Linked DNA regions of Homo sapiens: region 1 is linked to region 2. The links are contacts of gene promoters, found by promoter capture Hi-C in human tissues and cell types (Jung and others, 2019). All regions are on one chromosome and are shown on one strand. Each heading gives the region's core, a stretch centred on a gene start or on the middle of the fragment in contact. The rest is flanking DNA. Distances are from core to core; before and after follow the strand shown.

Region 1 (5,175 bases), core at 974-3,473, 36 kb after region 2:
CCAGTGTGGTGGTGAAGTATGCGAGTTGCTGCCTGTAAAGTGCTGTTCGCAACACCTGGCCGTTCATTTGCCGACTGCTGCTGCTGCTGGAACAATGGCCAGGGAACAAAACCTGTCACAGCCAGTCGAAGGGGTGTCTCCTAGTTGAGATCTGCAGGATGAATAGGACTTGTTTGACTTTGGTCATCAGGAAAGGAAAGCCCAGAAATACTGGCAGGAGGGCTGGGAAGTAAAGCACAGAGGTGCAGAGAGAACTAGATGAGAGCCGTACGGCGCACAGTGTGTGTAGAGCAGTTTATGTTTCCAGAACCTTTTCACAACCACCCTCCTGTTACACCTGTGCTGTCCAGTAGGGAACCTTTGGCCACATGTGGCTTTTTATTGTTAATTAGTTAAATAAAATGAAAAATTCAGTTTCTCTGTAACATTTAAGTTTTCAACAGCCACATGTGGCTGGTGGCTACCATTTGGAGAACACAAATACAGAACATTTCCATCACTGCAGAAAGCTTTATTGGACAGTATGACATTATACCCTAACAAAAGTCTTGTGAAGGAAGTAGGTAGGGCATAGATTTTTCTTAGATACTTTATTGTTTCATAACATTCCAAAAAATTAAAACTCATGACTTATTCACCTTAACAGCAACTATTTATGTTTCTGTAGCATCTTTTGATCTTTAGCCCATGAAATCAGCTTATAGATGGTTCCAATCATAGTGTTTATACAATTGCTTATTTTTTTCAATTACTGTTACTTTGCAAAGACTTTCCACTGACCTGATACACAATGTTTATATTTGCCGGGTTAGTGAAGAGGGATTATGCCATGATGTACCATCACTGGGTTAACTGCTTCCTGATTGTTGGACGCCTGGGTTGCTTCCTGTTTTTCAGTATTATGAATAGTGCTGCCATGAACTTTTTTGTACCTGAAGGCTTTTTCTTCTTTTGAATTGTTTCCTTACTATAAATTCTAGGAAGTAAGTTATTCAGTCAAAGGATATAATCACTTTTATGGCTCTTGTTATATTTTGTCTAATTGCCATTTTTTAAAAAAAGGCCTAAATGTATTATAGGTATCATTGTTGCTTGGCTCATGAGAACATCCCGTCTCCAGAGGTCAAGAGATTATTAGCCCAAAGTGTAGCTACTTGCAGATAGAGCAGGGGCTTTTGTCCTCTGCTTCCCAACTCTTGCCCTATCTTTCTATTGTACCACTCCAAATATTTCTTATCACAATGTTGCTGTTAGTAGTAACACTAGTAAATCTGAGTATTTATAAGCTCATAAAGCTTGTTACAGCCTTAAGCAAAAAGCTTGGGGCCAAGGGCGTTTTAAAAAATGCACACTTTATGAGGTGCAACTGCGGAGAAATGAGGACGCGTTCTTAAGCTTTGGTATTCACATGGTGGTGGTGCTGGTAGAGGCTGTTACATTTCTTCCAGTGAAGCTGTTCTTGCAGCCGCCTTGGAATTCACTTCAGGGCCAGTTTATGAGCCACCCCAAGTAATCTGCTTGGAGTCTGAGCATCATACCTTGTATTTGACCAAAAATGGTATTCCTGAGCTCAGTGCCACCTGATTCACTGCACTTGGAACCAGATGATGTTGGGCTCTTTCCAGAAGTCAAATCCTTCCTGGGAGGATGAAGATCTGCCAGCTCTGAGGATTCTGGCTGGGAAGAAAAAGAGCCTCAAGCTTTGAAGGCCATTCCCATGGTAGACAGAGCTGATGTGAAAAGTGGCCATCCTGTTGCCCCAGGCACATGACCTTCTGAAGTGACCAGGCTGAAAGGGAAGCAATACTCGTGTGTAAGTCCGGCTCTGTTTACTTACGAAGGTTGTTTTTATTATTCTTCGGTTACTTCATGTTGGAAACATGGTGCAAAGCAGTGAAGCAGCAGAGCCAAGGTGGCGGCAGGCCTTTTTTTTTTTTTGAGATGGAGTTTCACTCTTGTTGCCCAGGCTGGAGTGCAGTGGCGTGATCTCGGCCCACTGCAACCTCCGTCTCCCGAGTTCAAGCGATTCTCTTGCCTCAGCCTCCCAAGTAGCTGGGATTACAGGCACCTGCCACCATGTCCGGCTAATTTTTTTGTATTTTTATTAGAGACGGGGTTTCTCCATGTTGGTCAGGCTGGTCTCAAACTCCTGACCTCAGGTGATCTGCCCACCTCAGCCTCCCAAAGTGCTGGGATTACAGGCGTGAGCCACTGCGCCCTGTGAGGCAGGTCTTTAGGATTGTCTCTACCCCAGGGCTTCCCCACAGAAATATAATACAGACTATGTATAATTTTACATTTTCCAGTAGCCACATTTAAAAAGCAAAAAGGGATGATGCCTGTAATCTCAACACTTTGGGAGGCTGAGGCAGGAGGATCACTTGAGCATAAGAGTTTGAGGCTACAGTGAGTTATGTTTGTGCCATTGTACTCCAGCCTGGGTGACAGAGTGAGACCCTGTCTCTAAATAAATAAATAAATAAATGGGTAAAAAGAAACAGATTTTTAAAAAATTGTGACAAAATATATGTAACAAATTTACCATTTTAACCATTGTTAAGTTTACAATTCAGTGGTATTTGCAGTGTTGTATAACCGTCATCACTGTCTATTTCTAGAACTTTTTCATCTTTGCAAACTGAAACTCTGTACCCAGTAAACAATATCTCCCCATTTCCCTTCCCTCCAGCCCTTGGTAACCTCAATTCTACTTTCTGTCTCTGAATTTGCCTATTCCAGGTACCTCATATAAGGGGACTCATACAATATTTGTCCTTTTGTGTCTAGCTTATTTCATATATATTTATTCAAAGCTCATAATGTTTTCAAGGTTCATTCATGTTGTAGCATGTATCAGAATTTCATTTCCTTTATGGCTGAGTAATACTCCATTGTATGTATATACTACGTTTTGCTTATCCATTCATCTGTTTATGGACTCTTAGTTGTTTCCATCTTTTGGCTATTGTGAATAATGCTGCTATGAACATTAGTATCTTGAGTCCTTGCTTTCAATTCAATTTTTTTTTTTTTTTAAACAGGATCTCTCACCCCGTCACTCAGGGTGGCGCAATCACGACTCATTGGCTCACTGCAGCCTAGACCTCCCAGCTGGAGCAATTCTCCTGCCTCAGCCTTCTGAGTAGCTGGGACTACAGGTGTGTACCACCATGTCCGGCTAATTTTTAAATTTTTTATAGCAACAGGGTCCCACTCTGTTGCCCAGGCTGGTTTCAAACTCCTGGGTTCAAGTGATGCTTCTGCCTTGGCCTGTCAAAGTGTTGGGCTTACACTTTGGGCGTAACCCACCATGCCCAGCCAATTATTTTTTACGTGTATTTTTTGGTGGCAGGGTGGGGTGGGGGCAGGGTCGGGTGGGGGCAGGGTCTCGCTCTGTCACCCAGGCTGGAGTGCAGTGGCGTGATCGTGGCTCACTGCCTTAAGCTCCTGGGCTCAAGTGATCCTCCCACCTCAGCCTCTCGAGTAGCTGGGAATACAGGAGTGAGCCACCACTCCTGCCTAATTTATTATTTTTTTTGTAGAGATGGGGTCTCGCTGTGTTGTCCAGGCTGGTCTCAAACTCCTGAGCTCAAGTGATCTGCCCACCGTGGCCTCCCAAAGTGCTGAGATTATAGGCGTGAGCCACTGCAATCGTTTCAGCATGTAATCAATATGAAAACATTATGAATGAGATAGATTACATTCTTATTTTCATACTAGGTCTTTGAAAATGGGTGTGTAATTAGCATCTCAATTCAAACTAGCTGCGTTTCAAGTCTTAATAGTCATGTGTGGCTCATGGCCACCATATTGGATAGCTCAGACTTAGCAAAATATTGCATTGTGGCACAGATCTCTGGAAACACAAAGGGTTTTAGATTCAAGTGGGCCTGGTTCCAAAGTAAATTTGCCCCTTTATCATTGGGATGGGCAGAAGAAAGCCACTGATGGGTGCTGTGGTAAAGGGGGAGCAGTTCAGTCATGCCAGGGGAAGAGGAGGGTGACAGGAGAGGCATGTTGGGGAGATGACACTTGAGCTCAGCCTTAGAGGCAGAGTGGGGGCTTTGTCAAGCAGTCACAGTGGGAAAGGACATTCTTTGCAGAGTATGCAGCTTGGGCAGAGGCCCAGGATTTTGAAAGAGCCCAGTGCTCTTGGAGAACCACAGCAGTTCTTTCAGCTTGACTAGGATATTAGGAGTGGGGGCCCTGCTGAGAGGAGAGGCTGGAGAGCTGGGCTGAGGCTGGACCTTGCACCACTGGCCACCACTGCCCCTGTCATTCACGCCATCAGCAGCTCTTGTCTGGCTTATTGGCAGGGGCCTCCTCCTGGCTCTCCCTGTGTCCACTTTGCCTCTCCCCTTGTTGTCCCTCCTCCATTTAAAAATGGAAGTCAGATCATGTCACTTTTCTGCTCAAAACCCTTCAGTGGCTTTACATTTTACTCAATCAAATTGGAGGTATCAGGGTCCGCCCCCACTCCTCTCTGATCATACCTCCTTCCACCCTCCCTCCTGATCACTTCTCTGCCTGTACTGGCCTCATTTCCCCACCCTGGGGCCTCCACACTTGCTTTTTTCCCTGCCTGGAACGTGTTTCCCTCAGATACACAAATGGCTCCCTCTCTCACTTCTTATCTCTTCCACTCCATTCCCGTCTCTGTTCTTCAGAGAGAGCCTTCTCATCACAAAATAAAATGATGCCCTTAAGTTTTTTCCAAAATGCTTATCACTACCTGGCATATCACATCTCGACGTGTTCATTGTCTGCTTCCATCCTGAGCATGTAGAGGCTCCAAGAAAGCAGGGGTTTGTCTGTTTTGCTCATTCTTCAGTGCTTGGTATTCAAGAAATATTTGTTGAATGGATGACTACATGAATAAATAAACAACAAAACCTGAAACGTAGCAGCCTTTAGTAAATGTATGTTGATTTGAGATTTTTGTTGAAGTGCTTCCCTTTGCATTTATTTATTTTTCTCAACTTTATGTTTGGAAAACATCAGATACACAGAAAAGTTGAAAGAATGGTTCATTGACTGACCATATGTTCCCAACTTAGATTCAAGAGTTGTTAACATTTCACAATTCCTGTATATATTCTTGGGTGTGTGTGTGTGTGTTCAAGTTAAAAGTCAGTTACAGGCTGGGTGAGGTGGCTCACACCTGCAATCCCAGCA
Region 2 (5,770 bases), core at 2,935-5,434:
GTGAAAGCAGGCAGCAAGGGTAACTGCTCAGCTCTGAGTCAGACAAACTGGAAGTTCAAATCCTGGCTCTGCTGTCATTAGCTGTGTGTCCCAGGACAAGTGGCTTCACCTCTCTGAGCCTTATTTTCCCCGGCCATAAAACCAAGATAGTAACTAGACCTCCTACTTCGGCTCCTGGAAGGATCTGGTGAGGTAAGTGCCTGAACCAATAGGGAATTCTCTAGAAACCTTTGCTGTGTCTACCTAAGACCAACCCTCTCAGAGGGCAGGCTCTTCCTGTTTTAATTTTGTTTGGAGTTGGAGAGAGGGGAGAAGGGCTCTAAGTCTTGCTCCAGATGCTTAGATTTTGCTGAAGAGTTTTAGTCCTGGAAGAGACTGAAGAGCCGGGGGATCCAGTGTGGCGCAGTCATCTCATAGGTCCTGTAACTACCCTTAATTGGGGCCTGCGGACAGCATGCTCTGCAATTAGGGGAAAAACAGCCAGCAGGGGACAGAGCCCGCCTCCGCTGGGGCAAGTGCCACTGCTGTCAGCCCAGACCTGCCCAAGCATGGAAACACGGCTGGCCTCGGGGGACTTGGCCACCTAGGAATTGGGTCCTCCCATCTCCCATGGGTTTCTCCCTCTCTCAGCAGGATGTCTACTCCATGGGGGTGTAGATCCATCCAGAAGCCCAGCCAGCCCCGGAGGTGGCCAGCACCCCCGCCTTTCCCACAATCTCCTCACATGGCTTCCTTCTCTCCCACTCCTGGGTCCTGCTGAGGAGTTCTGGCAGGCAGGGCCAGCACTGGCAGAACCCACCTTGCTCTCCCGGCCCTCTCAGGGTATCACCCTCCTTTCTGAAGGCACTGAAGTCTCCTCTAACCCAGGGATGCCTTGGGCCCCCAGGCAGCACTCAGGGGGTCTGCTTACTGCAGCCTGAGACCCTGTACCTGCAGAGCTGGAGGGAGCAGCAGCCCAGGCCTCAGTGGTCAGCCCCTCCCTCCATGACATGAGCATCCCCACAACACGCACACTGGCTGTCCTCCACTTCCTGCTCGAGTGAGCACTTGCTGCCAGCGAATGACAGGGATCTCACTACCCCCAGGCCCGGGAGCTTATTTCCAGATGGTTCTTTATTTATTTATTTTGAGAGCGGGTCTCACTCTGTGGCCCAGGCTGAGGTGCAGTGGTGCAATCATAGCTCACTACAGCCTCAAACTCCTGGGCTCAAGCAATCCTCCTGCCTCAGCCTCCTGAGTAGCTGGGACAGCAGGCATGTGCCATCATGCCCAGCTAATTTTGAAATTTTTTGTAAAGATAAAGTCTCACTATATTGCCGAGGCTGGTTTCAAACCCCCGGGCTTAAGTGATCCCCCCGCCTCAGCCTCCCAAAGAGTTGAGCTTATAGGCATGAGCCACAATGCCAGGCCCAGGCAGTTCTTATTGTTAGGAAGTTTGTCTCACCATGTCAAGCCCAAATCTCCTTCTCCTGCAAATGTTTGTTAAGCCTCTACTGTTCCGGTAAGGACTGGGGCTAGAGAAAAGATGAGAACACGGGATCTACCCCGAGGGCTGGCTGTGTAACATCCGCCTGCTGGGCTGGAGCCTCTGCACCTACAGCCACACGACTGGTCCTTTAGATATGTTCCGCATGTCTGACTTAAGCTTTTGTTCCTCAGACCAAGGCTCGGCAGGCTTCCGTCCTCCTCATCGCACCATACCACGTCTGGTCCCCCTTCTCCCCACCTGGTCCAGGCTGCCTCTCCAGAAGTGGAATTTCCTAAGCCGAGAGATCTCTGGATGCAAGCAGGGCCCCTTGACAGAAACCACTGCCTTTTCTGTCTCCCAGCTGCAGCCTGGCTTTCTTGCCTTCTTTGCTGCTGATCTTTTAAAGATTCAGGCAGATCTAGGTCCCCAATCACCTCCCTCCCCTGCTCAGAAGCCCTTGGCTCCCCACTCCTTCCAGAATAAAGCTCAAACCCCTTCTCTTGGCTTAAGCTCTCCCTCTGCCTGCCCCTTCTCCCAAGGGCTGGCACAAGTGATTCCCAGCCCCTGTGCCCTATCAGGCTCCACAACCCATCCTTGCACTCTCCCTCTGGAGCAGGCATCCCCATGCTCCTCTTACAGCCAAGGAAAAGAGCCTAGAGAGGACAAGGACATTTTCCATGATCCTCCATCAAATTAGTTTTGGAGTGGGCACTTCAGAGTGGGCCTCCTCATTCCCAGGCCGGCAGACTTCCTTCCGCTCCATGCAGCAGCCTCCCAGGTACAATGCTCTATTCACAGTATTCCCCATTCACAGGGATCCTCAGCCTCCATCACCTGCACGTGGGAAAGGGTCTGAAAAAAAGGAAAGCTTCTTGCTCTTTGTTGTTGGGCCTCTGGGGAAGAAAGAACAGGGACAAACAGGAACACCTGCTTGATTGGCCCCTCCCTATGCACACCCAGTAGTTTCAGGGAGTTGAAACAACCTCATAGGAGGGCAGACTTTGGTGGGGAGGGCAAGTCATAGTAAACACAATACCCCGCTCATTCAAGATAAGGCTCAGCAACTGCACAAGTTAACCAAGAGGCTCAACATTTGCCACAAATCCTGTGCCCCAGGCATAGGTCAAGACCCCACAGCAACCTCTGAGCTATGAGAACCGAATCCATGGGTTTGCAGATCCCACTGGATGAAAATGGGAAACAAGAATTATCCAGTGTAGGGTAAGATAAGAAGAATAGAGGTTATGTCACTAAGGATAAAATAGCTCCAGCCTGAGCAACATGGCGAGACCCCATCTCTACAAAAAAAAAAACACACAAAACAAAACAAAAAAAAACTTATCTAGGCATGGTGGCGCATGCCTGTAGTCCCAGCTACTCTGGAGGCTGATGTGGGAGGATTGCTTGAGCCCGGGAGGTTAAGGCTGCAGTGATCCATGATAGTGCCACTGCACAGTAGCCTAAATGTCAGAGCAAGACCCCATCTCAAAGAATAAAATAAAATAGCTGTCAACAGACACATTCCACATGACAACTTAAGGAGTCAAAATTCACTGAATGAAGTGTAGCCGAGCCCAACAGCATTGCTGGCAACCCTGATGACTGAAGGCACTCCAGAGTTTATAATCTATCATTATGATCATCGGTTAGCTTCCTGCAGTGCTTACTGATTCTGGGATTAGATGTACTTGAGATTGCCTGGATTCAGGATAAACGGGCACTTGATCTACATCCGTTGGCACCTTTTGCCAGCTTTCATGCCAGGAATGCCAGGAGAATTCTGCAGATTCACCTGCAGCTGACAGAGGTCAGGTCTCAAGCACCCAAATTCGCAAGGCCATTTTTGAAAACCCAGGGAAAGAACATCTTTAACCTTCCTTGAATATCCCCCTTTGAAATTTGAGCACCCCAAAGCATAGACTTCCTGATCTGGTTTATAAACTGTTTCAGTGACAGCATTCCAAGTTAAAAGAAATCTAAGTTTTTAATGAGGAAGCATCTTGAACTGTCATTCAAAAGAGTGACACTCCACCTCCTTCCAGAAGGGGTTTGAGGCAGTCTATGGTGAAAGACACAAATACTTCAGGACCATTAAAGCAAGGATCAGGAGACAGGCGTGGGGTAGCGGAGGACTCCAAAGGCAGATAATTGTGTCTAAAACCTGGAGTAAAGAGTGTGGCTGCAATTGAGCAAGAAAGCAAAATGTTATCAATTTCCCGGCAATTACATTGAATCAGTTCTGAGTGATCAATGAGCAGTATTGATTTGCACAGCCACTTGGCTCATCTCTGATCCATGGCAGAATCCCATCGCTGACAGGAAAATCGAGCCAACTCACGTTTGCCCCCGAAGCCTGCCCACGCATCCTCGAAGGAGCACTGAGACCTCACCACCTGCGACAGACACCTGGAGCCAGTCCGCCACGCGCCCAAGTTAAGACAAGCCCCAAACAGCACCATCAAAAGCCTATTCCAGAGCCCCTATTGAGGGGTGATTTTATCCAGAGAGGGGCTCAAATGTACTCACCAGTCCATGGGCAAAGAGGATGGCGGTGGGCCTCTTGGACTCAGTGTTTCTAAGTTGGTGAGAAGGTTAACTTTTCTTACCCCCACCCAGCCTAGCCCCCCCAGGGCCACCCCTCTCACCTGATGCGGCAGATATCCCTCTGCTCCGAGGCACTGCTCAAATCCAGGGGCCCTGGGCTGGGTGTTTGCTCTGGCAGCCGCCTGGCGTTCCCATCATTTATCTCTTCATTTTCCTAAGCGTTGTCAGCGTCAGAGAATCAATTACCCACAAGTCAACCAAAGGACTGTTTTTAGCATCATATCACACTGACAAACCCTGTTGGTGAAAGAGGTTTGGCCCCTTGCAGACTTAGACTCCTGGTAAAGTCTCCTTTTATCTTTGGCACAGTGGACATAGTACAAAGGTGTAACATTATTCCAAGAGGATATAGAGAATATATACTGCTATAATAGTGATTGGAGAACTCGGCTGGGCGCGGTGGCTCACACCTGCCATCCTAGCACTTTGGGAGGCTGAGGCGGGTGGATTGCCTGAGCTCAGAAGTTTGAGACCAACCTGGGCAACATAATGAGACCCTGTCTCTAGAAAAAAATTAAAAATTAGCTGGGCATGTTGGCACATGGGTATAGTCCCAGCTACTCAGGTGGCTGAGGCAAGAGTGTCACCTGAGCCTGGGAGGCGGAGGTTGCAGTGAGCCAAGACCACGCTATGGCACTCCAGCCTGGGTGACAGAGCACGACTCTATCTCAAAATATATATTTTTTAAAAAAAGAAAAAATATGTGTTAAAAATAATTGGAGAACTCATAACAGTGAAACACCAAGAGTTTATTGATTCTCCAAGATAAATGTGCCTTTTCAAAAGTTCATATAATTTAGCTTTGTCCCTGTGTAATTTTATTTCACTTTTGGGTAGACAACATTATGAATAAGCGTTATTCTCTCCTTAGTGGGGAATTTGTTCCCTATCTCCCTTGTCGTCCAATTATCAGAATTCTGCACTATTTGATTTACACCTGCTTGGTCACAGGCTGATTTCAACAGCTAGCCTGGGGGCATCCGTCGTCACCTGTCAAGGCAGCCAGACATTGGCAGTTGCCTCAGAGAAGTGTGAAATGAGAGGGAAGAGATGGAAAACCTTGGGAGAGTTGTTGTGTTTCCAGATTTCTCTAGCCTATAGCTAAGAAATCCTCAGGAATGACATAAAAGCACAGGAGGCAGAAGCTCTGGTTTCCCAGGCGGCCGTCGTGGAGGTGTGGAAAGAGCTCCAAGCCTCGAGTCTAGGGACCTGCTGCCTCTCCCAAGCCTGTCAATCATGACCTCTGTGACCCTTAGGAAGTTACTTCTACCTGGCTGGGTGCAGTGGCTCACACCTGTAATCCCAGCACTTTGGGAGGCTGAGGCGGGTGGATCATGAGGTCAGGGGTTCGAGACCAGCCTGACCAACATGGTGAAACCCCGTCTCTACTAAAAATACAAAAATTAGCTGGGTGTGGTAGTGGGCACCTGTAATCCCAGCTACTCAGGAGGCTGAGGCAGGAGAATTGCTTGAACCCGGGAGGTGGAGGTTGCAGTGAGCCGAGATCGTGCCACTGCACTCCAGCCTGGGCGACAGAGCGAGACTCTGTCTCAAAAAAAGAAAAAAAACTTCTACCCTCCGGGCCTCAGTTTCTACCTGGAAACTTGAGAGTTGACATAGAACAGCAACTTTCAAACTATTTTTTTGAGAGGGATCCTATCTTTGCCACCCAGGTTGGAGTGCAGTGGCATAATCTCG

The links. Contacts are between HindIII fragments. The study calls those that stand out against the background at their distance.
Region 1: a fragment that was not itself captured here is called in contact with the fragment with the promoter of GHRH in region 2 in 1 of the 25 tissues and cell types used here (hippocampus).

What each region holds. Positions count from the first base shown.
Region 1 is chr20:37,295,722-37,300,896 of GRCh38, forward strand. The region is part of intron 1 of MANBAL (mannosidase beta like); the gene reads left to right. Among named protein-coding and RNA genes, the nearest start is that of MANBAL, 8.7 kb to the left of the region's middle. The HindIII fragment of the contact is 4,244 bases long and covers 102-4,345 here.
Region 2 is chr20:37,257,630-37,263,399 of GRCh38, forward strand. It overlaps GHRH (growth hormone releasing hormone), which reads right to left and starts at 4,185. Exons shown (of 5, transcript NM_021081.6): 1 at 4,114-4,185. RefSeq lists a silencer at 370-603. The HindIII fragment of the contact is 8,848 bases long and covers 1,991-5,770 here.